Linked DNA regions of Homo sapiens: regions 1, 2 and 4 are each linked to region 3. Evidence: promoter capture Hi-C in human tissues and cell types (Jung and others, 2019). All regions are on one chromosome and are shown on one strand. Each heading gives the region's core, a stretch centred on a gene start or on the middle of the fragment in contact. The rest is flanking DNA. Distances are from core to core; before and after follow the strand shown.

Region 1 (4,186 bases), core at 1,638-4,137, 150 kb before region 3:
ACACTTACAGAGCAGGCACACTGGTTTTAATTGGATTGCGGGTTTATTTCGAGACCTATCTGGAGCTGCCAATGGAGACAAAAGGCTTTATCTTGAAGCTGCCATGTGCAGAGAGGCCTGCTCGTTTATTTTGGTAAGGTTCAGGAAGAAGGTGATGATTTATGTGGCAGATGAAAGCTCCCCTGCTCAAGGCACCCCCTTGACAATGCTGTAAAAGAACTAATATGAGGGTTCTTGGGGAAGGGAGATAATATATTTTACATGTAGAAGAATGTGAACCGTGGTGGCCAAAGGGCAGATTGTGTCACATTATGTCTTCCAAACATCACCGCCACAACCTGCCCCATCCCACTTGCCCTTCTGGCAACATCACCTTGACACTTTTCTTGTGGTGGTAGTCTCAGTCCTCTCTTCTCGAATCTGGACAAAACTTGGGCTGCTGTCACCAGTATAATAAGTGAAGCGACTATGAACTTCCAAGGCTAGTTCTTAAAAATGCCACACACTCCTGCCTTGCTGTCTTGGGACGCCAGTGCTTAGAACCCAGCCACAGTGAGGAAGCCCAAACCAGCCCATGTGGAGACGGCCCATGGAAAGGACACCTCTAGGCGTTTAGGCTGATAACTCAGCTGATAATGAAAGCTACTTGTGGTTTATTCTCTGGATTTTTCCTTGCCCACTCCAAGATAAGCCTTTGTGCTTTCTTCCCCCATGAATAGAATCAGAAGTAGATAGTTCTCAAATCCTATCACTCTTTTGGAGATTACATCCTGAGGACAGAAAGGAAAACAATTGGTGTTTGGAAAAGGGAGAGGGGACATAAAAGGAATGACCATATATAAGGGAGAGTCCACCATACTAGAAAACTAGAACAGGGGTAAGCACAGGAACTTCTAACCCACTAAGTCCCTCAAAATGGCCAAGGATGGTGGCCAGACCTTAGGGGAAATGGCTGCTTGTTGTATAGACAGCGATCGGAGTCCCAGCCCAGGACACTGCTTTGGCAGAGATTTCTGGATCCATGATGGCAAAGAAGGTGCAAAACTAGCAATGGGCCTTGGTGATGGGTTTCTCACAGGTAACCAGGTCAGGCTAGAGGTCAGCTTCCAGGATAACTATTCCTGCTTATGATACCCCAGGACCTTTCTATATAATGGGGTACCCCCAAATGACTGAATTTTTTGCCAATGATGTAAGATGGTGGCTTGGAGTTTATTTTCATTTGACATTTAAAAAAAATGTTCCAAAACAGATTACTAATCCCTCCTACATGACATTCATAGAAATCATTAAAAAGATATAAAAAAGTAAACACGTAAGGGCATAGTCATGATTGGAAAGAAGAACACAAACTCTGGATGAACCAGAACGATACAGAATCTCTTTTTTTCTTTTTGAGATGAAGTCTAGCTTTGTTGCCCAAGCTAGAGTGCAGTGGCACCTTCTCGGCTCACTGAAACCTCCGCCTCCCAGGTTCAAGCAATTCTCCTGCCTCCATCTCGCGAGTAGCTGGGACAACAGGCGCATGCTACCATGCCCGGCTGCTACATTTTGTACTTTTAGTAGAGACGGGGTTTCACTATGTTGTCCAGGCTGGTCTCAAACTCCTAACCCTGTGATCTGCCCACATCGGCCTCCCGAAGTGCTGAGATTACAGGCGTGAGCCACTGTGCTCGGCCCAGAATCTCTTAAAATTGGAAAGTAGGCAGGCATAAAGAAGAAAAACTGCAGCCTAGCTGGGAGTGGGAGAATTCTGCTGTGAGCCTCAAGGGGTGCCCCCGACCAAGAAGGGGGGATCCAGAAAGAGGAGGAGGAACTCAGAGTGGCCAAGGTGAGCGCAGCGTGGTAGGGCAGCCTCCGGGCAGGGCACCTGCACCCATGGATGCAAGTGTATGCCTTCCCCAGAGCAGCAGGTACAGGAACTCTGGGAGCAAGAGACGCAGCGCAATGCCCCAGATATGCCTGCCTTCCCCAGAGCAGCAGGTACAGGAACTCTGGGAGCAAGAGACGCAGCGCAATGCCCCAGATATGCCTTAAAGACCCACTGTGAGATGTCATCTCCTTACACACCACAGGAGCCTCTGCCAGGCTCACTAAAGCCAGTGTAAAGCAGCAGCAACAATGGCAGTTCCCACCCCATCTCAATCATCTGCGTGAACTATTATAGCAGATCTTCTAACAGGGAAACTTGGCATTGATTTACATAAGCAGAATCAAATATTCCAGCAGATCCAGCATCAGAAGATAGAAATAAGTGAAAAAGGAAAAACTTTCATTAAAGAAGTAGGTTGGTGAATAGAAGCAGTGTGTGTGTAAGTGTGTGTGTGTGTGTGTGTGTGTACATGCACATATAAAATATCTTTAAATATTTAAGGACATAATGTGTGCGATCACAAGAATAGAAAGAGTCTGGGCGTGGTGGCTCATGCCTGTAATCTCAGCACTTTGGTAGGTCAAGGCAGGAGGATCGCTTGAACCCAGGAGTTCAAGACCGGTATGGGCAACAGAGCAAGACCCCATCTCAAAGAAAAAAGAACCAATCAAAACTATTGGATGAACATTTTAATTGTTGAAACTTAAAAACCTAGTACGTGGGTGAAAAACAAAATAAGCACAGCTGAGAGGCAAATAGATTGGAAAATGGAACCATGGAATTTGCTCAAAATGACACAAAAATTAAGAGATTTGTAGAATAAATCTAGTTCCAGCATCCATGTAATAGGAGTTACAAAAGAAGAGCCTGGAGAAATTAAAAGTAAATAAAATTTTAAGAAATAGTTGATTAGAAATGTACAGAATCGAAGTAAGACATGAGGTCTCTGAAAGAAGCCATCAATACCCAGCAGGATAAATATTTTTAAAATTATCCAGACACAGTTGAGAAGAGAGAACATTTGCATCCACATGGCTTAAATATTAGGACCAAGGACAAAGACCACCTGTTTCAACATAACTTAATTATTTGCTCCAGGAAATCCTTGCCCAGAAAGATAAAGCTGTAAACCAATAAATAACTGCTATTTACTTTAGGAAATTCCTGCAAACCAGTTTGTCTGGGCAAATAGTTTGTGCATCTGGCCAGTTTTCCTCACAGGACAGCCATGTTTTCATCTGGGCAAAGAGCTCTTTTATCAAACAGTTTACTTATAAATATTTGCTTTGAGCCCCTAGCTTCACTGTGGCCACAATCCTAAACTATCAGTTACGAACTTTGCTCATCCCAGTCAATTCCCCAGCTTGAAAGAACTGCCTCAAATCTCATGAGCTCAGACACCAAAATGCTATAAATATCCTCTCCTTACTTCTCCCTTTGAGCCATTGCTAAGGTCTCAAAGTGATGGTCTCCCTTACAGTAAGTTTAATAAACTTAGCTTTGCTTTATCAAAAGGTTATTTTGATAGATATTTTGGGAGTTGACAGTTGAAAATCCATGAAGAAACTTCAACATTAAAATAAAAAGAAAATCCTTAAAATCTTCTGGGGAAGAATAAACTGGTTATTGACAAAAGAAAAATAATATGGTCAGGCATGGTGGCTCATGCCTGTAATCCCAGCACTCTGGGAGGCTGAGATGGGTGGATCACCTGAGACCAGGAGTTCGAGAACAGCCTGACCAACATGCTGAAAACCCGTCTCTACTAAAAATACAAAAATTAGCCAGGTGTGGTGGTGGGCACCAGAAATCCCAGCTACTTGGGAGGCTGAGGTATGAGAATCGCTTGAACTCAGAAGGTGGAGGTTTCAGTGAGCCATTGCACTCTAGCCTGGGTGACAAGAGTGAGACTCCATCTCAAAAAAAAAAAAAAAAAAATCTGATTGACCTCAGCCTTCTTGACAATAACCATGGGCACAGGGAGACCTTGGAGCAATTATCTTCAATATCTAAAGGAAAATAATTTTGAACCTAAAATGTTCTAGCCAGACAAGCTATCTTTTAAAATTGAAGTCGGCAAACTATAGCCAATGGACCAGCCCCATTTTTACAAATTGTTTTGGAATACAGTCACACCCATTATTTATGTAGGTATCATTTGTGGCTGCTTTTGCACTACCTTGGCAGAGCTGAATAATTACAACTGAGACCATATGGCCACAAGTCTAAAATACTTACTATTTGGACCATTTAAAAGGGCTTGCTGACACCTGCTTTAAAATAAAGACATTCAAAAACTAACAGATGCTGGCG
Region 2 (4,054 bases), core at 483-2,982, 220 kb before region 3:
TAAGTCATGCCAATAAAAAACAAAAGTAAGGTGCTACTATAACATCAAGCCTTAGGTGCACATTCTGCTCTAATTTTACAGACCTCTTTTCCCCATGTTTGTAATGTGACCCACAAAATAAACCTGAGCTAGGAATTGTTCATTCTATCCTCATCTGAGAGCTAAGAGCACAGCGGTTCACAGAGACCATGAAGTGATAGAAGTAGGACTAGAACCCAAGTTCAAGGGGCCCAGAGCCCCCTCCTCTGTGCCTCACTAATAGTGAATACCTCAAGGATTATGTTTTCATCTCATTTCTAAACACCAGTGCCCTATACTTAACATAATAAAACCAGTGTAAGAACTAAAAGTGCTTTACACCAAATTATAGCAATATATCACAAAGCTTAGCATAACATTACGAATAGCTCATTGAACCAAGGCAGTTTGTTTGCAGAGTAAGCAAGCAGATTTTCTGCATAATATAGCAGTGCAGCTGGTAATAGCAGCCACTGAAATAAAAGCTGGGGCCGGTGGGGGCAGCCTCATTTAGGGACAAGTAGTAGACCCTAATGAAATTGCATTTTGGCCATATCATCCTCCTGAGAAAATTCCCCTTGAGGTTTTCCATTTGAATCCTGGGCATATTTATGAAGATCAAAGTAATGGCTTTTTAAAATTAATTACATGAATCTGTAGCTCAACAACATTGAGTGAAAGGCGGGTGTTGTACCCCATGCCTTGTTACAGCTGTACATCACACACATCAAAAGCCCAGGATGCCGGAGAGAGCACGTTCCCGGCTACATCAGCCCCCAAGCCGCCGGGATGAACGTGGAAAGAGTACAAAAGATCAGTCCCCAAAGTTGTTGTGACAGCTTAATTGTATTATAGTGCTCGGATAATTCCCATTTATTTGGCTTTTTCCTCAGAGCAAATGCTGGCCCCCCAAGCATAGCTATTACCAGGAGAATTAAGATTCACAACTTTGATGGGTGCTCTCGCTCGCTCCCTCTAATACCAGCCCTGCTCAAAAGTCCTGGTAATTGTTCTACCCCGATCAGGACTTCCCCCAGCCTTCAGCATGCCGAGACCCGACAGCAGCTAACTAATTGCAATTAAAATCTGCCACGTGAGTGGAAGAGAATAACATAAATTAATCAGTACATTAGCAGAATTACATTTAAATGTTCAAATGTGCATTCAACATAGTGGGACATTTTAAATTATAATGCAAAGTGCTTCATTATGGATGCTGATATTTTAATGAGGAAATGTGATGTTTGGTTAAATAGGAGTACAATATACAGACTTCCTTAAAATTAGCATCAATGATGCATTTTAATTCAAAAAACGAGTTGTGGTCTGTGTAATTCCTGCATATCAATGTGGAAAATTTGCCTGGAGCTGTGGAAACAGTTGAACATCTCATTCTCTGAAGAATTAATAATTTCAGCTGTACTAACTAGCACTTTATGTAAATTGTCAGATAAATCACAGCAATAAATAAAGGTTTTAGAAGAACAGAACAGTGTGCTTATCCTTAATTTATTCAATCATCAATTCATGTATACTGAAGCTAAGGGATATGAAAGATTCAACATACCAGGCAAAAAAAAAAAAAAAGGAAAAGAGAAAATGTCTTTTATAGCCACACAGAGACTCCAGAATAAAGATCCCATCCAATTTTACCAAAATCTTGCATGTAAAAATCACTCTATGATGCATGTAAACATAAAAGATAGATTAAAATTTATATTAAGTTTATTTTCAAGTACAGATAGTCAAGGCTTAGTAATCAACATCTACACTAGAGTCTCAAAAGTCCTCCTTATGAAATAAATATCTTACGTAATTGCATGAACATAGAGCACAAACAATACACGTATATCAAAAGGACTGTGTCAGGCTGTCTTTGTCATTTCCATGTGCCACTTTTGTTTATGATGCTGCAGGCACAAATCCTAAGAGACATGGTAGAAGGTGACCTAAATTGGGTCTGCCATTTCTGTCACTGGTTAGAGATGGGGCAACCTCAAAGAAGACAAAATCCTTGTCTTCTTCTTCTGGGCCATCTTCTGATTTTATTAGCAGCAAGATAAATTCTTGCTGGATTTTGTGATATAACAAAGCCACGGCAGGGCAGGATAGAGCAACGAACCACCACTGTTAGAGTATACACAAAAGAGCCTGGATTTATTTACAAGAACTCAAGTGACTGTGGATCTGAAATGATCATAATTAAACAATACAAAACAAGACCAAATTTTAATGCAAAGAAAATCTGTCTTCCATGATACCCATTAGAAACCCCACCCACCGTCCATTTATGTCCTGCTGATAATTCCCTGTTAAAATTGCCTTATTATACACAACTTTGCTCTTATTTAGCAAACAACAGAAGGTTTTGGTATGTTCCTTTCTTGGGTTTCAGGCGAGAGAGTTTTTCTCTTTCCAAAGCAATTTTTCTCCCTAAATAAACTGGTTCCTCCTTTGGAAAGAGATTCTCTCTCGGTGTCTCTGTGCTATGTGTCATCAGTCTGCCACTGCTGATGGGAACCCACCTTCTCCCAGGGAAGCTGGAGCATGACTTGGCACCCTGCCATGTATAAAGACACCCGTTCACTTTGTGAAAGGTGTCTGAATCAAAATGGAGCCACTAATGCTAAAATAAATCCTGACAAATAGAGCCAGGCAAGGCCATGAAGAAAGGGTTCTCCTGCTAGCAGTCCTGATAATGAAAAAGACCTGGGTATTATGCTTACTACCTGGATGACAGGATCAGTCACACTCCAAACCTCAGCATCACACAATATACCCATGAAACACACCGGTGTGTTTACCCCCTGAATCTAAAATTTTAAAGTTGAAATTTAAAAAAAAGACTACAAAAGCCACAACCTTGCACAAAGACCATCACAACCATACTCACAAAAATACTACTGGAAAGACATCTGCCCAGTAGCTGCCTGTCTAACCCCACACTGGCATCACCCCTGTTGATCCTTGTAGCCAAGAATAATTATTTCAAAACAATGATGTAATCCTCTTCATTTTTTCCTTTCAAAGCCTTTTTCTTCTTCTACCTCCCTGAATACATACATAGTATATTACGGCATTCATATTCCCGTTGCAATGCTCTCTTCCCAAATAAACATCTTTTCTTTTGGAGAATCACGCTCTGTTATTTAGTTTGACAACTTCTAAGCATAACCATTGACAACGTTGAATTTTACCTGAGCCCACTGATCCTGCAAAACAGGGACGGTTAAGAAATCCCCTTACTTTCTTGTGTTCCAGAAAACAGCTGCCTGCAAAGAACTCCCTATCCCCACAGGACTTAAAGAAGACTCATGAGTGTTCCCTTTGTTTTACCTAGGATGAGATGACACAGACACACCAGGTCCCATTCTTGGCCTCACAAAAGATCAGCTGAACTGCTTGTCCTCATGAATCAAGCGGAACAAAATGCTTTTTAACCAAGCTTGGGTCAAGCTGCTCGCCTTCCACAGGAACTTTGACCCACCCTCAGCCTGAGCAGCACAGAGCCACCCCTAAGAACAGGCTGACCTCAGAGTAGGACGTTCTCTCATCCACTAGCCTACCACTTCCCATACCCAGTTCCTTCCAGCCTTGTTTATTCCTCTCTGTAAAAGAAATCCCATTCTGCCTCTCTCTTGAGCTGCCTGCCAACCTTATGGTCATAGCTTTCTCCCGATTGCAATTATCCTTTCTTCTTCCCACTTTGCAGTAATCCTTTTGAAATATGGATTTGTTTTTTTATTTGACACCATCGACAGCCGGTGGTGTCTAAGTGCTGCAGCTCCAAGCACTATCAAAATCTATGCAAAGACATCTTATTATATCCCACATGAATTAAGATAACTCAACCCCAGAAGGAAGTGAGGCTACTAGAAACTGGTACCAACAACAGGATTTTCTTTGGGTACCATCAGAGCTAAAAGCTTAGCGTTTTCTTGGTCTGCAAACACAGAAGCCAACTAATTGCACCTAAGCCATTCAGTCTCCACTCACAATTGGACAGAGTCTGGTCCAAACAAAGAAAGGAATGAAT
Region 3 (3,620 bases), core at 902-3,401:
GTTTGAGAAGCACCGAGGTACATCCTCAAAAGGCGATGGTTTTCAAACTTGAACTGGCATCACTCATTAGAATGTCCATCTCTGGGCCCCACCCCCAGACTTGCTGACACTGAGTTGACCCCCAGAGTCAGGACACCTCCAGTGTGGCTGGAGATTGTGCATTTCTAAATACCCAGGTGCTGCCAGTGCTGCTGGACTGGGACCACATTTCAAAAACTGCTCTTCAAACTGTGAGTTGTTTTCCAAGAAGTTAAACTGAAGGCTTCATCCCACAGAGCCTATTCTATGTTAGATTGGGCTTCCCCAGCCTTATCTGGGATGCAACTTAACACTTGTCTTGGCTAGGCACTGTGGCTCATACCTGTAATCCCATCGCTTTGGGAGGCCAAGGCGGGTGGATCGCCTGAGCTCAGGAGTTCAAGACCACCCTGGGCAACATGGTGAAATCCTGTCTCTACCAAAAAATACAAGAAACTAGCCGGGCGTGATGGTGGGTGCCTGAGGTCCCAGCTACTCAGAAGGCTGAGGTGGGAGGATCACTCGAGCCTGGGAAACAGGGGTTGCAATGAGCCAATAACATGCTACTGTACTCCAACCTAGGTGACAGAGTGAGAACCCATCTCAAAACAAACAAAAAATTCGTCTAGTCTGCGTCATCTTTAATTTTCCTTTATCAGAAGAATTATTTATCTATTTGTCTCACTTTCCTTTGCTGACATGATTTTCCCCCCTCAAAAAAGAGATGAAAGTGGAATCATTCTTTCGCTTCAAAAAGTTAAGAATTACTGCTGTCTTTAAAAATATTAATATGAGGCCGGGCGCGGTGGCTCACGCCTGTAATCCCAGCACTTTGGGAGGCCGAGGCAGGCGGATCACGAGGTCAGGAGATCGAGACCATCCTGGCTAAAATGGTGAAACCCCGTCTCTACTAAACATACAAAAAATTAGCCGGGCGTAGTGGCGGGCGCCTGTAGTCCCAGCTACTTGGGAGGCTGAGGCAGGAGAATGGCGTGAACCCGGGAGGCGGAGCTTGCAGTGAACCAGATCCCGCCACTGCACTCCAGCCTAGGCGACAGAGCGAGACTCCGTCTCAAAAAAAAAAAAAAAAAAAAAAAAAATATTAATATGAGCTAGACAAGGTTTTTTAATACATTTCAATTTAATTATGAAGTGTCCAAGACAAGAAAAAACTGTGAAAACCAACGACTTATGTACCTGATGGTTTAGATTTCTTTTGGAATTGTACATCTGTTCAAAATACAATTACATCTGCATTGTTGGAAACGTTTGGATAAAAACCAGTTTATATAAAGGTTTCAATCAGTCCACATCCATGAGAAAGTAGAAAGGGCAGGAAATGATTAAGGGGGATTATTGCTAATCTGATAAACACAGATTTGTGTCTTTCGGAGAGACAGAAGTGTCACTCTCTCCATAGCTGTACCATTCCTACCACCTGGCCCCCAAGTGGCATTGCTTTAACCCATTGTCTCTAGGGAAAATGTTCTCTTTCGATTTTGGTTCTCAGTCCTATAATTTCTGGGGCTTAAATTAGTCCTGGAGCTAGGGAAGAGGTGATGTCATCCTTCCATTGTCTCCTTCGGCCACAGTTTCATTTTAAGAGTATTGGTAAGTAAGTGGGCAGTGTGACTAGATGGCGGTCTGGACTCGGTATCAGGGCTGTGTGCATGCCCAGCTGGGGGGCCTTGGTGGTGTGTGATGTGATAGATACACACATGGTTGGCATCCCCAAGTGTGTCTGCGCTTGGGTTCATTTGTGTGTGCATGTGTGTCCATTTGATGTGGCGTGTCCCCAAGCTTGTGGAGTCGTCTGTGAGTCTGTTTTGTGGGGTGTGGCCCAGGTGTGTCAGGGTCCACCATGCAGTCGGGGCTTGAGCCTGAGTGCCCAGGTGTGTTAGGGTGGATGTGACTTCTGTGGGGCGTCCCCAGGTGTGTGAAGCTGGTTGCGCTGTGTCTGCGGCGGGGCGTCTCCGGCGGGCATCGGCGTGGGTGGGTCTGGCTGTTAGGCGGCCAGTTGTGCGAGCGGCCACGTGTGTGCGAGGGCGCCGCAGGGGCTGGCGGGCCTCGCGTTCCGCCTGCAGGGGGCGCCGCCGGGGGCGGCCTGGGAGCAGAGGCGCGGGCCCGGCCCTGCATTTCCGCCCTGGCCCTGCCCTCCCCGACAGCCCCGGCTGCCGGCAGGTGAGGCGCTGAGCCCGGGCGGGGGTCGGGGCTGCGCCTGCTCCGCCCCCCAGGCGGGGTGTCCTGGCGCCCGCGGGAACCTGGGGCGTCGCTCCCTGCGCGGCGTCCGGGTCGAGGCCGCAGCACTCGGCGTCCCCGCGGGTGAGGGAGGAGGCCTGGGGCGCCGCCGGCCGGCGAGGCCAGCCGGAGGGAGGGGACGGTGGACCCCGAAACGCGTCCTCCATTGCCCCGCGCGGGGGCCACGGGCGCGATTGCCAGAACGGGCAGAGGGCGGTAAAAGCCAGGAACCGCCTCACGCACGGGCGCTGCTTCCCTGTAAAGGAAGCGTGACAGCCCACACGCTGGCTTTCAGAGGACCTCAGCTGAACCGGGCTAACACTTCTCAGAAATTGTTTTTCATTTTAAAGATTTCCTGTTTGTAAGGAGACTAGAAGCTGCAAAAGAAATCTAAAAACGTCTCCTGGCACTTGTGAATTTCTGATCTAAGGTTTCTTTGGAGCCATTAGTGAAACTTCTGAAATTTTGAAGAAATTTACTGCCTTGATTATTAATTATGGTTATCATTGCTGTTTTACTCTGTGGGCCAAGGACAACGCCACAAGCTCAAAAGCAGACTTAAGTGTTTTTTGAACACAGCTTCTTAACTCCACGCTTAGTTGATTTAATATTTAAGTGATAAGAAAATGCAGTCGATTTCTGGCCCTTTTTATTGTTTGGGATGAAGTCTTGCCCTGTTGCCCAGGCTGGAGTGCAGTGGCGCGATCTCGGCTCACTGCAACCTCTGCCTTCCGGGTTCAAGCGATTCTCCTGCCTCAGTCTCCCGGGTAGCTGGGATTACAGGCGCCTGCTATCACGCCCAGCTTATTTTTGTGTTTTTAGTAGAGACAGGGTTTCACCATGTTGGCCAGGCTGGTCTCGAACTCCTGACCCCGTGATCCGCCCGCCTTGGCCTCCCAAAATGTTGGGATTACAGGCATGAGCCACTGCACCCGGGATTTGTGGCCTTTTTTAAAAGCAAGTTATTCGTTTTGCTAAATGTCCCAGGAGAAATGATTAATGAAAAACTAAAGGTGACCTATTTAAAGTGTAGGTCTTACACACACGTAGGTGTCCTTATGTACATTTACCTGTAAGTGAAGACTTTTCCCTGGCCTCATTCAATTTATTGAAATGCTCAGATGAAGAGCACCTGCAGTTTGCCCGTATTTTCCCAAAATGCCTTGTTTTCCTGAAACTATTCCCAGAAGAAGCCAGACTTCCCTGAATAAGCAGACCACTGTGTTCTAGCAGAGATTCGTATTGTAAAAGCTGAGTTTGCAAAGTTAAATTAATTTCTAATTGGTGGATTTTTGTACGGAAATACTTTGGGCTAGTTGATTTTACTAACCAGGCCCTAACTACTACTAGTTAGGAGAGGGTGG
Region 4 (3,730 bases), core at 841-3,340, 160 kb after region 3:
CATAGATTCTTCAGGCTCTCATTCACTATCTGGTCCTCCAACCTATTTTTCCATGTTTAGCTCTCATTACTTCCCTAAATGAATACTTCCCAATTTGCCTGTTGATTCACAAACACGTTTTTCTAAGGTGTATCTCAAATATCATCTGATGCCCTTGGCTAAGGGTTTCCAGAAGATTAACAAAAAATAAAAGAGTGCAACTGACTGAGAGCTCACAGAAGCAAATATACTGAGGATCGTATTAAGCGAAAAATCATCTTTTTATTTACAATTAATTGAGAATCACAGAAACCGCTTTTAAAGAATTTCGGGGTTGGAAAGGTGAGGTGGTGGCAAGGTAGTAAGGGAAGAGAAGCACGACTATCATTAAATTGTGCTGGCATAACGAGTTATCTGTTTGTTTGTTTATTTATTTATTTATTTATTTATTTTTGAGATGGAGTCTTGCTTTGTTGCCCAGGCTGGAGTGCAGGGGTCCAGCCTCTTGAGCAGCTGGGACTGCAGGTGTGCACCACCATCCCCGGTTAATATTTTGTATTTTCAGTAAAGACAGGGTTTCACCATGTTACAGGTCAGACTGGTCTGGTATCAAACGCCTTACCTCAGGTGATCCACCCGCCTCGGCCTCCCAAAGTGCTGGGATTACAGGCTTAAGCCACCACACCCGGCCTGGTATCTGTATTTTATTTTATTTATTATTATTATTTTTTTTGAGATGGAGTCTCACTCTGTCACCCAGGCTGGAGTGCAGTGGCGCGATCTCAGCTCACTGCAAGTTCTGCCTCCTGGGTTCACACCATTCTCCTGCCTCAGCCTCCCACGCAGCTGGGACTACAGGCGCCCGCCACCACACCCAGCTAATTTTTTGTATTTTTAGTGGAGATGGGGTTTCACTGTGTTAGCCAGGATGGTCTCGATCTCCTGACCTCGTGATCCACCCACCTCGGCCTCTCAAAGTGCTGGGATTACAGGCGTGAGCCACTCATACCGTGTACAAAAATCAATCCCATGAGGATTAAGTAGTTAACTTTGAAAAGCACAATTTAAAAAGGTTTAAAAGAAAATATAGGTATCTTTGTGAGCTTAGGAGTAGAACAAGATTATCTACACAAACGCAAAACACACAAACCATAAAGGAAAATATTGAAAATTCTGACATTAAATCTTGCCTTAAAACTTAACTTGGATAACTTAAAACAATAAAAACAGAAGCTACTTTATCAACACATACGACAAAAAGGAGCCATAACGCAGGAAGAACTTTTATGAGTCAATAAGAAAAAGATAATCCAATTTAAAAAGTGGGCAAAAGTCATGAGCAGATATTTTACAGAAGAGAAAACAAGAGAGCCAATAAATATATATTTTCAATGTTCATTGTCATACTAATCAGGGAAGTATACATTAAAACCATAATGAGATGCCATCTAAACCCACCAGTCAGGAAAAACCTAAGTAGTCTGGGAAGGCCAAGGGTTCACCAGGATGTGAAAAAAAATGTTAAGGGCACAGATTCCTTGGTTCAAATTCTGGCACTCCCATTTACTACCAGATGGGAAAGCAATTTAGCCTCTACAAGCTTCTGTTTTCCCAAATACAAAATGAGGGATAACACTAGTACGTACTTTATTGGGTTTTTGGGGGCATTCATACATACAAAGTGCTTAGAACAGTCAGTGCCGGGCATAATAAGTACAGAATAAGGTTAGTTCATTGTTCTCATTGTGACTATCATCTTCACTACTGATGGGCACATAAGCTGGTACAGCCACACAGAGAAACCCACCTGGCCTTGCCATGCAGGAATGAGAAAGCACAGGCCCCACAGCATGGCTGTTATACCGGCACATGACCTGGAGAACCTCCTATGTCAAGAGGAAACAGGAAGTAGGGTGTTCATACAAGCATCACTGTGACAACAAAATAAGGAAAATAACACAGATGTCTATTTAGAGGAGAATAAGTAATTGGTGGTAATATTAATATGATGTATGGAAGTAGATAAACTGCAGCTATAGGCAGCAACATGGGCCAGGCTCACAAACATCATGCTGGTGGGGAGAAGACAACTCCTGGAGGAACACAGAGAGGATGGGGGCAATTACAAGGTTCAAAAACAAGAGCAGCTCAACAAGATACTGCTCACAGTGTTGGTGTATTCATAAATATCCCTAAAGAAAAGCAAGGTAGTGATCAATTTAAAACTCATAATGGTGTTCTTCAGGGACACTGGAAAGGAGGATTTAATCAAGGAAGAATGATACAAATAGCACTGATAATGTTTTGGTTTTTTGTTTGTTTGTTTGTTTTTGAGACGGAGTTTCACTCTTGTTGCCCAGGCTGGAGTGCAATGGCGCGATCTCAGCTCACCACAACCCGGGTTCAAGGGATTCTCCTGCCTCAGCCTCCTGAGTAGCTGGGATTACAGGCATGCGCCACCATGCCTGGCTAATTTTGTATTTTTAGTAGAGACGGGGTTTCTCCACGTTGGTCAGGCTGGTCTCGAACTCCGAACCTCAGGTGATCTGCCTGCTTCGGCCTCCCAAAGGCTAGGATTACAGGCGTGAGCCACAGTGACCAGCCTGTTTTCTTTTTTTTAATCTAGATAGTGGGTAAACAGGTTTTCATTGGGTCATTCTTTAGCTTTTATATAGATATAATAAATATTTTTGGCTGGGTGTGATGGCTCACACCTGTAATCCCAGCACTTTAGGAGGCTGAGGCAGGTGGATGACCTGAGGTCAGGAGTTCGAGACCAGCCTGGCCAACATGGCGAAACCTCATCTCTACTAAAAATACAAAAATTAGCGAGGCATGGTAGTGCGTGTCTGTAATCCCAGCTACTCCAGAGGCTGAGGCAAGAGAATCGCTTGAACCCGAAAGACAGAGGTTGCAGTGAGCCAAGATCGTACCACTGCACTCCAGCCTGGGCAACAGAGGGAGGCTGTGTCTCAAAATAATAATAATACATATTATTTTATATTAAATGAGGTTTAATAATAAAATTTAATGATACAAGTTAATGATAAATAGTAATATTTAATACTATTTAAGAATATAAAGTTTATATGTATGCTCAAAAATCCAGAGAAAAAAGAATTGTAGTTATTACTTTAAAGTACCTACAGTTACTATAGTAATCAATTACTACAGTAATCAATTTCAAGTGATTACTGTAAAATCACTTGAAAAATGCCTTTGGTAATATTCATCCCTTATTTCTCAGAATAAACAATTGCAAAGAGACACACAAACACTTATAATTGCATTTCGTAGCTATCTGCTTGGAGGTGTTAAGCTGGAACTCTTGGAGCAATGCAGCCCAGGAAGCAAGCAGAGAGAGAAAAGGGGGAGTCAGGAATAGAATTTGGAGGTTTGCCCATGCTAACAGTGGTCAGAAGAGAAATCAGCAGATGACTGTAAAGCCACCAGTTCTTTCTCCTGTCACGCTTGCAGATCCCTTCTGCACACAGTGCCCTCATCCCCACAGCTGCTGAGACTTCTTACCTCCGAATCCCTAACATCTGCTGACTTCTCTCTTTGCCTCCAATCTTCACCTCATGCTTCTTCAAGCCACTCTCCACAAAGCAGCCAAAAACCAAAAAAACCTCGTAAGCTACAATTCTGTTCAATCATCACTTCCTTACTGAAAGCTCTTCCACGGGTCCCTACTGACCTAGGGATAAAGTAGAGCCTCTCCTATGTCCTTAATAAGGCTCATGTGACTCGG

The links. The method cuts DNA at HindIII sites, captures the fragments that hold promoters and counts their contacts. A contact is called where the count stands out against the background at its distance.
Region 1: a fragment that was not itself captured here is called in contact with the fragment with the promoter of GGACT in region 3 in 2 of the 25 tissues and cell types used here (dorsolateral prefrontal cortex and thymus).
Region 2: a contact is called between a fragment that was not itself captured here and the fragment with the promoter of GGACT in region 3, in 1 of the 25 tissues and cell types used here (dorsolateral prefrontal cortex).
Region 4: a contact is called between a fragment that was not itself captured here and the fragment with the promoter of GGACT in region 3, in 2 of the 25 tissues and cell types used here (liver and mesendoderm cells).

What each region holds. Positions count from the first base shown.
Region 1 is chr13:100,733,373-100,737,558 of GRCh38, reverse strand. The region is part of intron 1 of NALCN-AS1 (NALCN antisense RNA 1); the gene reads right to left. Among named protein-coding and RNA genes, the nearest start is that of NALCN-AS1, 27 kb to the right of the region's middle. The HindIII fragment of the contact is 5,237 bases long and covers 269-4,186 here.
Region 2 is chr13:100,808,554-100,812,607 of GRCh38, reverse strand. All of the region lies in intron 2 of NALCN-AS1 (NALCN antisense RNA 1), which reads right to left. Among named protein-coding and RNA genes, the nearest start is that of NALCN-AS1, 100 kb to the right of the region's middle. The HindIII fragment of the contact is 3,944 bases long and covers 1-3,704 here.
Region 3 is chr13:100,587,320-100,590,939 of GRCh38, reverse strand. It overlaps GGACT (gamma-glutamylamine cyclotransferase), which reads left to right and starts at 2,151. Exons shown (of 3, transcript NM_001195087.2): 1 at 2,151-2,199. RefSeq lists a silencer at 1,999-2,518. The HindIII fragment of the contact is 6,002 bases long and covers 1-3,620 here.
Region 4 is chr13:100,428,848-100,432,577 of GRCh38, reverse strand. All of the region lies in intron 20 of PCCA (propionyl-CoA carboxylase subunit alpha), which reads right to left. Among named protein-coding and RNA genes, the nearest start is that of PCCA-AS1, 50 kb to the left of the region's middle. The HindIII fragment of the contact is 4,793 bases long and covers 1-3,730 here.